Regions from separate parts of the Homo sapiens genome. Here region 1 is linked to region 2. The links are contacts of gene promoters, found by promoter capture Hi-C in blood cells and fetal thymus (Javierre and others, 2016). All regions are on one chromosome and are shown on one strand. Each heading gives the region's core, a stretch centred on a gene start or on the middle of the fragment in contact. The rest is flanking DNA. Distances are from core to core; before and after follow the strand shown.

The links. The method cuts DNA at HindIII sites, captures the fragments that hold promoters and counts their contacts. A CHiCAGO score of 5 or more calls a contact.
Region 1: a contact is called between a fragment that was not itself captured here and the fragment with the promoter of GRTP1-AS1 in region 2, in 1 of 17 cell types (M2 macrophages). The highest score is 5.2, in M2 macrophages.

What each region holds. Positions count from the first base shown.
Region 1 is chr13:113,007,694-113,012,749 of GRCh38, forward strand. The region is part of intron 1 of MCF2L (MCF.2 cell line derived transforming sequence like); the gene reads left to right. It overlaps LOC107984591 (a long non-coding RNA gene), which reads left to right. Exons shown (of 2, transcript XR_001750037.2): 2 at 1-2,643. Among named protein-coding and RNA genes, the nearest start is that of MCF2L, 41 kb to the left of the region's middle. The HindIII fragment of the contact is 1,005 bases long and covers 1,608-2,612 here.
Region 2 is chr13:113,348,155-113,353,780 of GRCh38, forward strand. GRTP1-AS1 (GRTP1 antisense RNA 1) reads left to right here and starts at 3,519. Exons shown (of 2, transcript NR_120385.1): 1 at 3,519-3,816. GRTP1 (growth hormone regulated TBC protein 1) reads right to left here. Exons shown (of 8, transcript NM_024719.4): 4 at 2,695-2,819. LOC124903217 (MAGE-like protein 2) reads right to left here and starts at 97. Exons shown (of 2, transcript XM_047430838.1): 1 at 1-97. The coding sequence starts at 24. RefSeq lists a silencer at 605-770 and enhancers at 1,419-2,079, 2,080-2,740. The HindIII fragment of the contact is 10,625 bases long and covers 1-5,626 here.

The DNA.
Region 1 (5,056 bases), core at 860-3,359, 340 kb before region 2:
GTCCTTTGTAAGCTTGGGGAGTCGGCGGGAGAGACGTGACCCACTGGCCACTTCAGGCGGCTCTGTGTCGTAAGGATCAGTTTCACATTAGGTGATTGCCGGACTTACATCAAGCTTGAAGAAGCAGAAGATCCCTGCACACACGTGTGGCCCAGACCAAGAGCCGTCACGTGACAAACTTTGTGCTTAAATGGGTTTTTAGTATGTGTATCTTTTCTTTTTCTTTTTTTTTTTTTTTTTTGAGATGGAGTCTCGCTCTGTCACCCAGGCTGGAGTGCAGTGGCACAATCTCAGCTCACAGCAACATCCACCTCCCAGGTTCAAAAGATTCTCCAGCCTCAGCTTCCTGAGTACCTGGGACTACAGGCACCTGCCACCATGCCCAGCTAATTTTTGTATCTTTAGTAGGGAGGGGGTTTCGCCATGTTGACCAGGCTGGTCTTGAACTCCTGACCTCAAGTGATTTGTCCACCTTGGCCTCCCAAAGTGTTGGCATTTATAGGCGTGAGCCACTGTGCCCGGCCAAGTACGGGTATCTTTTTGGCAGTGTGAAGAATTTATTTAGGCTTGACTGTTTTAAAGCACCATAATGAATGTATAATTAAGTTATGATAAAGTCTTAACCCTTTGTTACAGGGGAACGGTAATGTTGTGAGTGGCTGTGTCTCAGCCCCTGGACTCCAGCAGTCACCCTCATAGGAGTCCCACCTCTGCGGGCAGCTCAGAGCCTCCATGTTTTTATATTTAATTCTCATGGTTAAATTCAGTGCCGTAACTCATGGAATTAAGTCTTTTTAAAATCTAAGCAAACTGTCTTTAAGACAGAAAAAGTTGGGTAATTCTTCATCTATTTGAAGTGATGCTCTCTGGATGGGCTGCATCCTAAGAATGTATCAAAAGTGGAAATTCTGACCACTGTTTTGATTGTCCTTTTACATATTAAACAAGTTGAGAGCAAGAACAACAAAAAGAGGGACCTCCGTGACCACGCCGAGGAAGACAGAGCCTGGCCTGGTTGGAAGATTGGCCTCTCCTCTGTCTCCTGTTTTCTCCAAGGTCCGATAACAACTCAGTTTCCCTTGGAGTGTGGGGACTTCATTTTGATTTTCAGTCTGATCTGTTGGGGTCTAGGCAGGAGCTTGGTCCCAAACAACACACCCATGTGTGCTGAGGACACGCTCCAGGGGATTCTTACGCCCGCCTGCATCAGAGAACCCAGGTCTTGTGGGCGAGGCAGCGTGGAGAGGGAGCGCAGCTCTGGAGACGGCCCCCAGGGCTTGCGGGCGGGCGGGCGAGGCAGCGTGGAGAGCGGAGAGCGAAGCTCTGGAGACGACCCCCAGAGGAGATTGGCCAAGTGCGGATGTGCGAGTCCTCCCTGCCCGAGGCGCAAACTGTCTCACTCCAAAGGGCGTCCGGAGGGTTCTGCGGGGCGGCTGTGCACTGACACCTGCCCCCCACGTGGGAGTCCGCCGGCTCCTGGCCCTTGCCGGTTGGTGTTGCGCGTCTGAGATGACGCCCCTGCGGTAGGAGCGGGGTTTCCCTGATCACCGCTTCTTTTGACCATCTTTTCTGGCAGGGCCTTGTATTTTTAAAATGTGTAAAGGTTAAGCTTTCTGAGATCAGAAAAATAATATTTAGTGAACCATGTGATTTAAGTCACTGTGTATGTGACATGAAATATTTATACCTAACCCACTAGCAAATGGCTCGTTAAACATATTTGAGATTTAATGTAAGTGAGAATTCTGCCAACCAAGTCAGGATAAACCTTAAACATCGGGAATGCAAAATCAAACAGATCCTTTAACACACATCACAAACAGAGGTGTGGACGCCCCTTTTGTCCCAATGGCAGGGACGGGGCGCTGGCCCCCAGGGTGTCCTGTTTATCCCCTGACCCACACAGTGTCAGGAGCTTGTCTGGAGGGGACGGGGATGCTGGCCTCCTGGGGTGTCCTTATCTGAAGGCTGTGGTTTCAAGCATCCTCCTTACTGAATTTAGATTTTGTTCCGATTTTGTGGCCTGCGTTTCTTCTTACTGCCCTGCTCTGTGGCCCTGTTCTTCCTGGGTTTGGAGATCCTCAAGGATGGGCTTCGGGAAGGCCTCTGGCCGGATGATCTGGTGACGTAATCCCATCTGACGCTCAGCCTTGGACTTTGAAAAGGCACGACTGTCCTGTCTGATGGACAGGATGCAGAAGCCTTTGGGAATGGGCATTTTGCCAGAATAAATAAAAGAAGACAATTGGCAAAAGATGGACTGTACCCCATGGCCCCAGGCTGCTGTGTGGAGAGACTTGTCCTCTCCTCTGCCCACGGTCACCAGTGAGCACCAGGGACGGGGTTTCCTGCTGCACCTGGGCCTCTTCCTGCTGCCAGGAGCTGCCTTGCTGCCTCCACCTGTGACAGTCCACCCCCCATACCCCCCCCACCCGCACCATGAGAGGATTTCCAGGGCCCACCCGCCTCCAGTCCCCGTTCTCTCTGCTGCTTTCGAGGTCACCCTGGGCTGGAAGGGGTGCCTGGGATACTGCTCAGACGTCTTGGCCGCCCTCCCACCCCGCAACACCCCGCTCCTGGTTTTCAGGATGAAATTGTCCTCAAATAAAGCAAGCTTTTGAGTCAACTTGCAAGAGGAAGGAAGTTTGCTTCAGTCGTCTGGTTTTGTTGGAACAAAGAGATCTAAAGATAGACACATGGTCCCCCTCCCTGGACTGCCATTGCCAGGACCCTGTTTCTGTGAGGAAAAGTCAGTGGTGGGGCCTCACCTGTGTATCAGGTGAGCCAAGGGCACCTCTGCCCTTCCCACGCTTGGGAAATCTCACCACGTCGTCCCCGTAGTGGCCAGAAGAGATTGGCCCTCCCAGGTGGGGCTGCTGTGGTCGGTGCTGGGGATGGGCAGGGGCAGGCCTGGCCACCCCCTCGTCGGCCCCACCTGCTGCCTCTGCCCGCGTGGCAGGGGAATGGACGGGGCAGCCTCTGCCGGGCCTCAGATGTGAGGCCCTAACCCTCCCCTCTCAGACCTGCCTCTGAGCAGTGGGGTCATCACTGGGGAGTTGGTTGGAGCAGGGCTCAGTGAGGGAGCTGGGCCTGGCCTGGCCTTGGGTGGCACATACGGGTCAGGGGCCCACCACCTCCCAGACGTCTGACAGCACAGAGCCCCACAGAGGCCATGCTCGCCTGCCTGCATCTCCTCTGGGGACCTGTCTCCTGAACTGAGTGGCCACTATTGTTCCTCCGTGCGCTTCTTAGTCTTATGGCTGCAAAATTAAGTAGACTGGAACTTTTAAAGAAACTATGATCATAAGGGCAGATTTTCCCATCATTCTTGAGTGGGTTCAAAAAATCAAGAAGAATGAAAACTTACACACATAAATGGAAGAAACGCCCAGCGCCCTGAAAATCCCAGGGCCCCGCCTGCAGAAGGCCTCCATGAAGAACGGAAGAAGGCCAACACTCTGGTGTGGGTCAGAGAGCATCCACAGGCCTCTTCAGGTTCACAGAGTGGCCAGTGACCACTTCAGATGTAGCGATATTTTAGAGTTTATTTGTATGAGGGCTTAGCTGTGTGCAGTTTCTGATCACACACAGGGGGATCCCTGCTTTTCATACCCAAAATGAGGCATTTGATCTGAGGGACAATATTTAGAGTTTGTCCTGGCCCAGAGAGTCCAGAGGCACTGCGGGCTGCCAGCAGGTAGACAGTGCAGTGCAGATGATGGACAGGTGGTGTGGACGGTGGACAGGTGGTGTGGATGGTGGACACTGCAGTGCAGATGGTGGACAGGCGGTGTGGATGGTGGACAGGTGGTGTGGACGGTGGACAGGCTGGGTGGATGGTGGACACTGCGATGAGGACGGTGGACACTGCGATGAGGACAGTGGACAGGTGGTGTGGACGGTGGACACTGCAGTGTGGATGGTGGACAGGTGGTGTGGACGGTGGACAGGCAGTGTGGACGGTGGACACTGTGATGCAGACGGTGGACAGGCGGTGTGGACGGTGGACACCGTGATGCGGACGGTGGACAGGCGGTGTGGACGGTGGACACCGTGATGAGGACGGTGGACAGGCGGTGTGGACGGTGGACACTGTGATGCGGACGGTGGACAGGCGGTGTGGACGGTGGACACTGTGATGCGGACGGTGGACAGGCGGTGTGGACGGTGGACACTGTGATGCGGACGGTGGACAGGCGGTGTGGACGGTGGACACTGTGATGCGGACGGTGGACAGGCGGTGTGGATGGTGGACAGGCGGTGTGGACGGTGGACAGGCTGGGTGGATGGTGGACACTGCGATGAGGACGGTGGACACTGCGATGAGGACAGTGGACAGGTGGTGTGGACGGTGGACACTGCAGTGTGAATGGTGGACAGGTGGTGTGGACAGTGGACACTGCAGTGTGGATGGTGGACAGGTGGTGTGGACGGTGGACAGGCAGTGTGGACGGTGGACACTGTGATGCGGACGGTGGACAGGCAGTGTGGATGGTGGACAGGCGGTGTGGACGGTGGACAGGCTGGGTGGATGGTGGACACTGCGATGAGGACGGTGGACACTGCGATGAGGACAGTGGACAGGTGGTGTAGACAGTGGACACTGCAGTGTGGATGGTGGACAGGTGGTGTGGACGGTGGACAGGCAGTGTGGACGGTGGACACTGTGATGCGGACGGTGGACAGGCAGTGTGGACGGTGGACACTGTGATGCGGACGGTGGACAGGCAGTGTGGACGGTGGACACTGCAGTGCGGATGGTGGACAGGTGGTGTGGATGGTGGACAGGCGGTGTGGACGGTGGACAGGCTGGGTGGATGGTGGACACTGCAATGAGGACGGTGGACACTGCGATGAGGACAGTGGACAGGTGGTGTGGACGGTGGACACTGCAGTGTGGACTGTGGACACTGTGATGCGGACGGTGGACAGGCGGTGTGGACGGTGGACACTGTGATGCGGACGGTGGACAGGCGGTGTGGACGGTGGACACTGCAGTGTGGATGGTGGACAGGTGGTGTGGACGGTGGACAGGCAGTGTGGACGGTGGACACTG
Region 2 (5,626 bases), core at 2,269-4,768:
CATCGTGGAGAAAAAGCAGAACATAGCCAGGCACAGTGGGGGATCCCAGCACTGTGAGAGGTAGAGGCAGGAGGATCGCCTGAGCTCAGGAGTTCAAGACCAGCCTGGGCAATGTGGCAAAACCCCGATCTCTACAAAACATACAAAAATTACTCGAGCGTGGTGGCGCACCTGTGGTCCCAGCTACTCAGGAGGCCAAGGTGGGAAAATCGCTTGAGCAAAGGAGGTTGAGGCTGCAGTGAGCCGAGATCACGCCACTGCACTCCAGCCTGGGTGACAGAGCGAGACCGTGTGCACTGTGTAACTCTACACATATGCCACACATTGAACTGTGTTGCCCGCCCCAAAATTCATCTGTTGAAGTCCTAACCCCTAGTACCTCAGATTGGGACCTTGTTTGGGAAAAAGACTGTTGCAGATGTCATTACGGATGGGGTCATGGAGGAGTTGGTGGGCCCTATCCAAGCCTGGTGTCCTTGTCTTACGTGGAGCTTTAGACACAGGCATGCACAGGAGAACGCACATGGAGATGGAGGCAGAGATTGGAGTAGTGATGCCACCCGCCGAGGGGCACCCAGGACTGCCAGGAACCAGCAGAACCAGGGCAAGGCCTGGGACAGTCCGTCCGTCACAGCCTCAGAAAGAACCCGCCCCGCAGACGCCGCGACCTCACCTGCCCCGCAGATGCCGCGACCTCTGATGCACAGCTTCCAGAGCTGAGAGAGAATTCGTTTCCACTGTTTACCAGGCTGTGGCATTTCCTTAGGGGCCCACAGCAAGCTAACAGGTGCACATCTCCGCACACACATGTACGTATGTGCCTGTAGGTTCCAAAAGCCAGCTGTGCTCTGGCATTCTGTTAGTATGTAACATTGTGTTTGTGCCTTGTTTTTTAAGAATAGAGATGGGGTCTTGCTCTATTGCCCAGGCTGGTCTTGAACTCTTGGCCTCAAGCAAACAATCCTCCTGCCTTGACCTCCCAAAGTGCATGATTATAGGCAAGGGCCACCCAGGTGGGTGGTGTTTTTTTTTGTTTGTTTCTCGGTTTTTTTCAGACAGGGTCTTGCTCTGTTGCCCAGGCTGGAGTGTAGTGGTGCCAACATGGCTCACTGCAGGCTTGACCTCCCAGACCCAAACGACCCTCTCACCTCAGCCCCTCGAGCAGCCGGGACCACAGGCGTGTGCCACCACACCCCGCTAATTTTTAAAAATATTTTGTAGAGATGGAGTCTTGCCACCTTGCCCAGGCTGGTGTATGCATTTTAATAAAGCTGTTTTTAAAACACAAAGGAGCAGTAAATAGAATGATGTAGAGGATTTCTTGCCCATTCTACCTCAACTCCAGAAGGCCACGTTCTTGCTCCTGGACAGTCATAAAAGTGAGGAATGGCAGGAATTCTGTCTGCAAAGGAGGGACTCTCCCAGCTTCACCCGACACGGCACTGCCAGCCAGCTACAGAGCCACACACGCACAGCACGTGGAACAGCTGGTGAGGACAGCGTGGTCCCGTGGCTCTGCTGCTGGCCTTTCACAGGGCGCTCCTCACGCAACGTCCACCCTTTCTCCTCGGGAGCATTCACTCTGCCAGGTGCCAGGCCCAGGGCTGTCCAGGCAGGGGCTCCACACTCCTCCAAACGTTCACTCAAACTGCATTTTCTGGTTGGTGCACGCCTGGCTCCCGGCTCCTACAGGAAGTTTCTGGGGGCATCACTGGGACTGCTAGGTTCGAACCACCCATCGCGACGATGTCCTTCCCTGTCCTCCTAGAAACGTTTAAGCCAGCCACAACCCCTAGGAGCCCGTGAAGCACATGGCCTAAAATGCCAGGAACGCACTCTCCAATCCCGGTGGCAGCCGTGGGCTCCAGGCTCTCAGCCACGGGGACTCACAGGCAGTCACGGGCTGTGCGCACACCTGGAAACCCTCGTGGAGGCCAGCCCTGCCCAGATGCCTGCCCTGCCCTCGGCGAGCTCAGACAGACTGGAACAGCACCACCAGCGACAGGCCCAGGCAGGACACACAGGCTGGGAGACTGCACGGCTCCTGGTTGCCCTGCATTCCGGCCTGTTCACTCCACTAGTTACTAACAGCAATGCCCTTAATATGCGCCCAGCTAGGTGGCCTCCGGGAGGCGCAAGGACTCTCCCAACTGCAGCTGCTGGTTCACACCACGGAGCCAGCCAGGGGATGACAGTGTAGACAGCAGACACTCTGGGAGTGGCCTCAGAGGACGACACACACCTCACAGCACATGCACCCCATAGCACACACATCCCACAGCGCACGCACCCCACAGCGCACGCACCCACAGCACACATATCCCATACACACACCCCATGGTGCACATGCCTTCCAGCATACACACCCCACAGCACACACACCCCACAGCACACACACCCCACAGCACACATATCCCACAGCACACACACCCCACAGCGCACGCACCCCACAGCACTCGCCCTCTGTGTCCCGTGCTGATTCTCCTCCCGCCACCTGAGGCCGGAATGAGGTCGTCGGCTGCTGCTCCCTGTCCTCCCTGCTGGGAAATGGCGTCCGAGCCTCAATGGGGCATCAGGACGTGGAATTCATGAACAGGGTTGACAGAGACGTGAGGCCGTCACTGCCGAGCCTGCAGCTGTGGACAGACCTGTCCTCACAGCCACCTCATGGCGTCAGAGGGTCCCGAGGCTCACCTGGCAGTAGCCCACTCCCTGGTTATGGTGCCCATATGCCAGCAGCACATTGTACAGGGTCCTCTGTAAGCAGGGGTCCGTGGTCTTCCGGAACTTCACGTTGTCGGGGAAGGTCCGGTTCAGGTCTGTGGGAAATTCAGAAGGAATCACCCACGGGTTTCTGTTCCACAAGCCTCCCACCCCTCCAGCTGCCCCGAGGGTGGCCACCTGGGTTCCACTTGGGACTTACGGACTGGTTTTCACCCTGGCCGCACAGCAGACTCAACACAGCCAGAGCGACAGGCTCACTGGGCCAGGAAGGAGGGGGTGATCCTGAACTCGGGGCGGAGAGGGGCCCTAACCGTCCTTCCCGCAGAGTCAGGGACAGCAGAGCGACCCCAGAGCTGGTGGCCAGGCCATGGCACTCCCTCCTCAATGCCCGTCTCCTCCCGGCCCCCAGCACAGGCCTCCTGCACCTCGGACCTCGCGCGTAGCGGAGGCAACTCTGCCTCGAGGACCCAGGGTGACAGGTGGAGAGAAATGCACACAAAACTTTGAGGTGTTTTCCTAATTTCAAAGATCCAAAACAGAAGGAGACAGAATAAATTGAGACTCCTCAGAGATAAAGGACACGGCTGAGAGCTGAGAGCTGAGAACTGAATAAACCTCGAGTTGTCAGCTTGTGTGTGCAGGAGGCATCCCTGCCGGCCTCTTCCTTCCTCAGCACCAACCCCTCCCACTGTCCCGCCCAGGCATCTCTTGGCAGGACAGTGTGGCCTTGGCCAAGCTGTTTAGTGCTGGGGGACCCGGATACCACGTGGGTCCCTGAGACTAACCAAGCCTCACGCTGACCAAGTGCCAGGCCTCACTGAAGCTGACCTCCGCGTTAACCCTGGACACAAGCCGAGCAGGAAGGATAATGCCGGCTTGACAACTCCACTGGTTTCTGCTCCCACTGGCCCTACCTCTGTTAGAGGTGTTCGCCAGGCACCCCATGCGGTCACCAGCAGACAGCCGCTTTCTGCACAAGTTCCAAGATGGACTCACAGCAGTCCCCGCCAGCCATGACGCTGAGATGGGTGTACACCCAGCTCTGGAGGAACCCAACCGCCTGTGGTCTCTCCACAACGGCTGCAAAATACTGTAAGTCTGTTTCCGACCTCTGGCCCCAGGCCTTATCTTTGCTTACAAAAAACTAGATTTGGGCCAACATTAGTTCAATGCCTCAGAGCACATTATTTCTCATTGTGTGTTTTCTTACAAAAGAGCCTTTTTTTTTTTCTGGAATTCTAAACATTCCAAAAAATGGAATCAGTCAAGGGGAAGTTAGTATTTTTGCTATTTCAGACTAGAGTGACCAGCTGTGTTCATTTATATGTAATATTTTTATTGAGTTTTCTATATTTATATATATATTTATATATATTTATATATTTTTATATTTTTATATATATTTATATATATTTATATATATTTTATATATATTTTATATATATTTTTATATATATTTTATATATATATTTATATATATTTTATATATATATATATATTTATATATATATTTAACACAGGGTCTCACTCTGTCACCCAGGCTGGAGTGCAGAGGTGCAATCACGGCTCACTGCATCCTCGACCTCCAGGGCTCAAGCGATCCTCCCACCTCAGCTTCCTGAGTAGCTGAGACTACAGGCACACACCACCATGCCTGGGCTAATTTACGTATTGTTTTGTAAAGACAGAGTTTTGCCATGGTGGCCAGGCTGGTCTTGAACTCCTGAGCTCAACTAATCCGCCTGCCTCAGCTTCCCGAAGTGCTGGGATTACAGGCGTGAGCCACCACACTAAGTTTCTTGATATGTTTTGATAACATCCTGTGGGAAAGGAGATGGCTCCATCTCCATTGTGGAGACAGAAGAGCATGGGAGCTTTCTGTCTGCACTGCGTGGCCTGGCATTGGCTCTGTGGGACTGGACCATCCACTGCATGGCTCCTGAAAGATAACTGACCAGGTGGCTCCAATTACTAAGCACAGAACTGTCATGGATCCAGCAGCCCCACACTCTAGGTAGGAGCCCACAGCTGAAAGCAGGGACCCAGTAGAATCCACACTCTGGGTAGGAGCCCACAGCTGAAAGCAGGGACCCAGCAGAGTCCACTCTAGGTAGGAGCCCACAGCTGAAAGCAGGGACCCAGCCCCACACTCTGGGTAGGAACCCACAGCTGAAAGCAGGGACCCAGCCCCACACTCTGGGTAGGAACCCACAGCTGAAAGCAGGGACCCAGCCCCACACTCTGGGTAGGAACCCACAGCTGAAAGCAGGGACCCAGCCCCACACTCTGGGTAGGAACCCACAGCTGAAAGCAGGGGCCCAGCCCCACACTCTGGGTAGGAACCCACAGCTGAAAGCAGGGACCCAGCAGAATCCACACTCTGGGTAGGAACCCACAGCTGAAAGCAGGGACCCAGCAGAATCCACATACCCAGGCTCACGGCCATGCCACCCATAACAGCCGTGCGGCAGGAGAGCCCAGGGGTCCACTGATAGATGGATAAATGAACAAAATGTAGTCTGCCCATGCGTGGAATATTATTCACCCTTAAAGAAGGAGGAAATTGTCACACAAGATGCAGTACAGAGGATCCCTGAGGACTGAGGCGAGGGAAAGGACCCCAGCTGCAGAGGACGCAGCCCACGGGACTCCTCTTATGTGACCCTGGAGTTGCCAAAGCACGGAGACAAGCGTACAGTGGGACTGCCAGGGGCTGGGCAAGGACACGGGGGTCGGTGCTTGACAATGGGGATGGCACAGAGACAAGCGCACAGCGGGATTGCCAGGGGCTGGGTGAGGACATGGGGTTCAGTGCTTAACAATGGGGAAGCTCCCAAGAGCTTCAGCTTGGGAAAATGAAATGGTAAATTTTATATTAGGCATATTTTACCATAATTTAAAA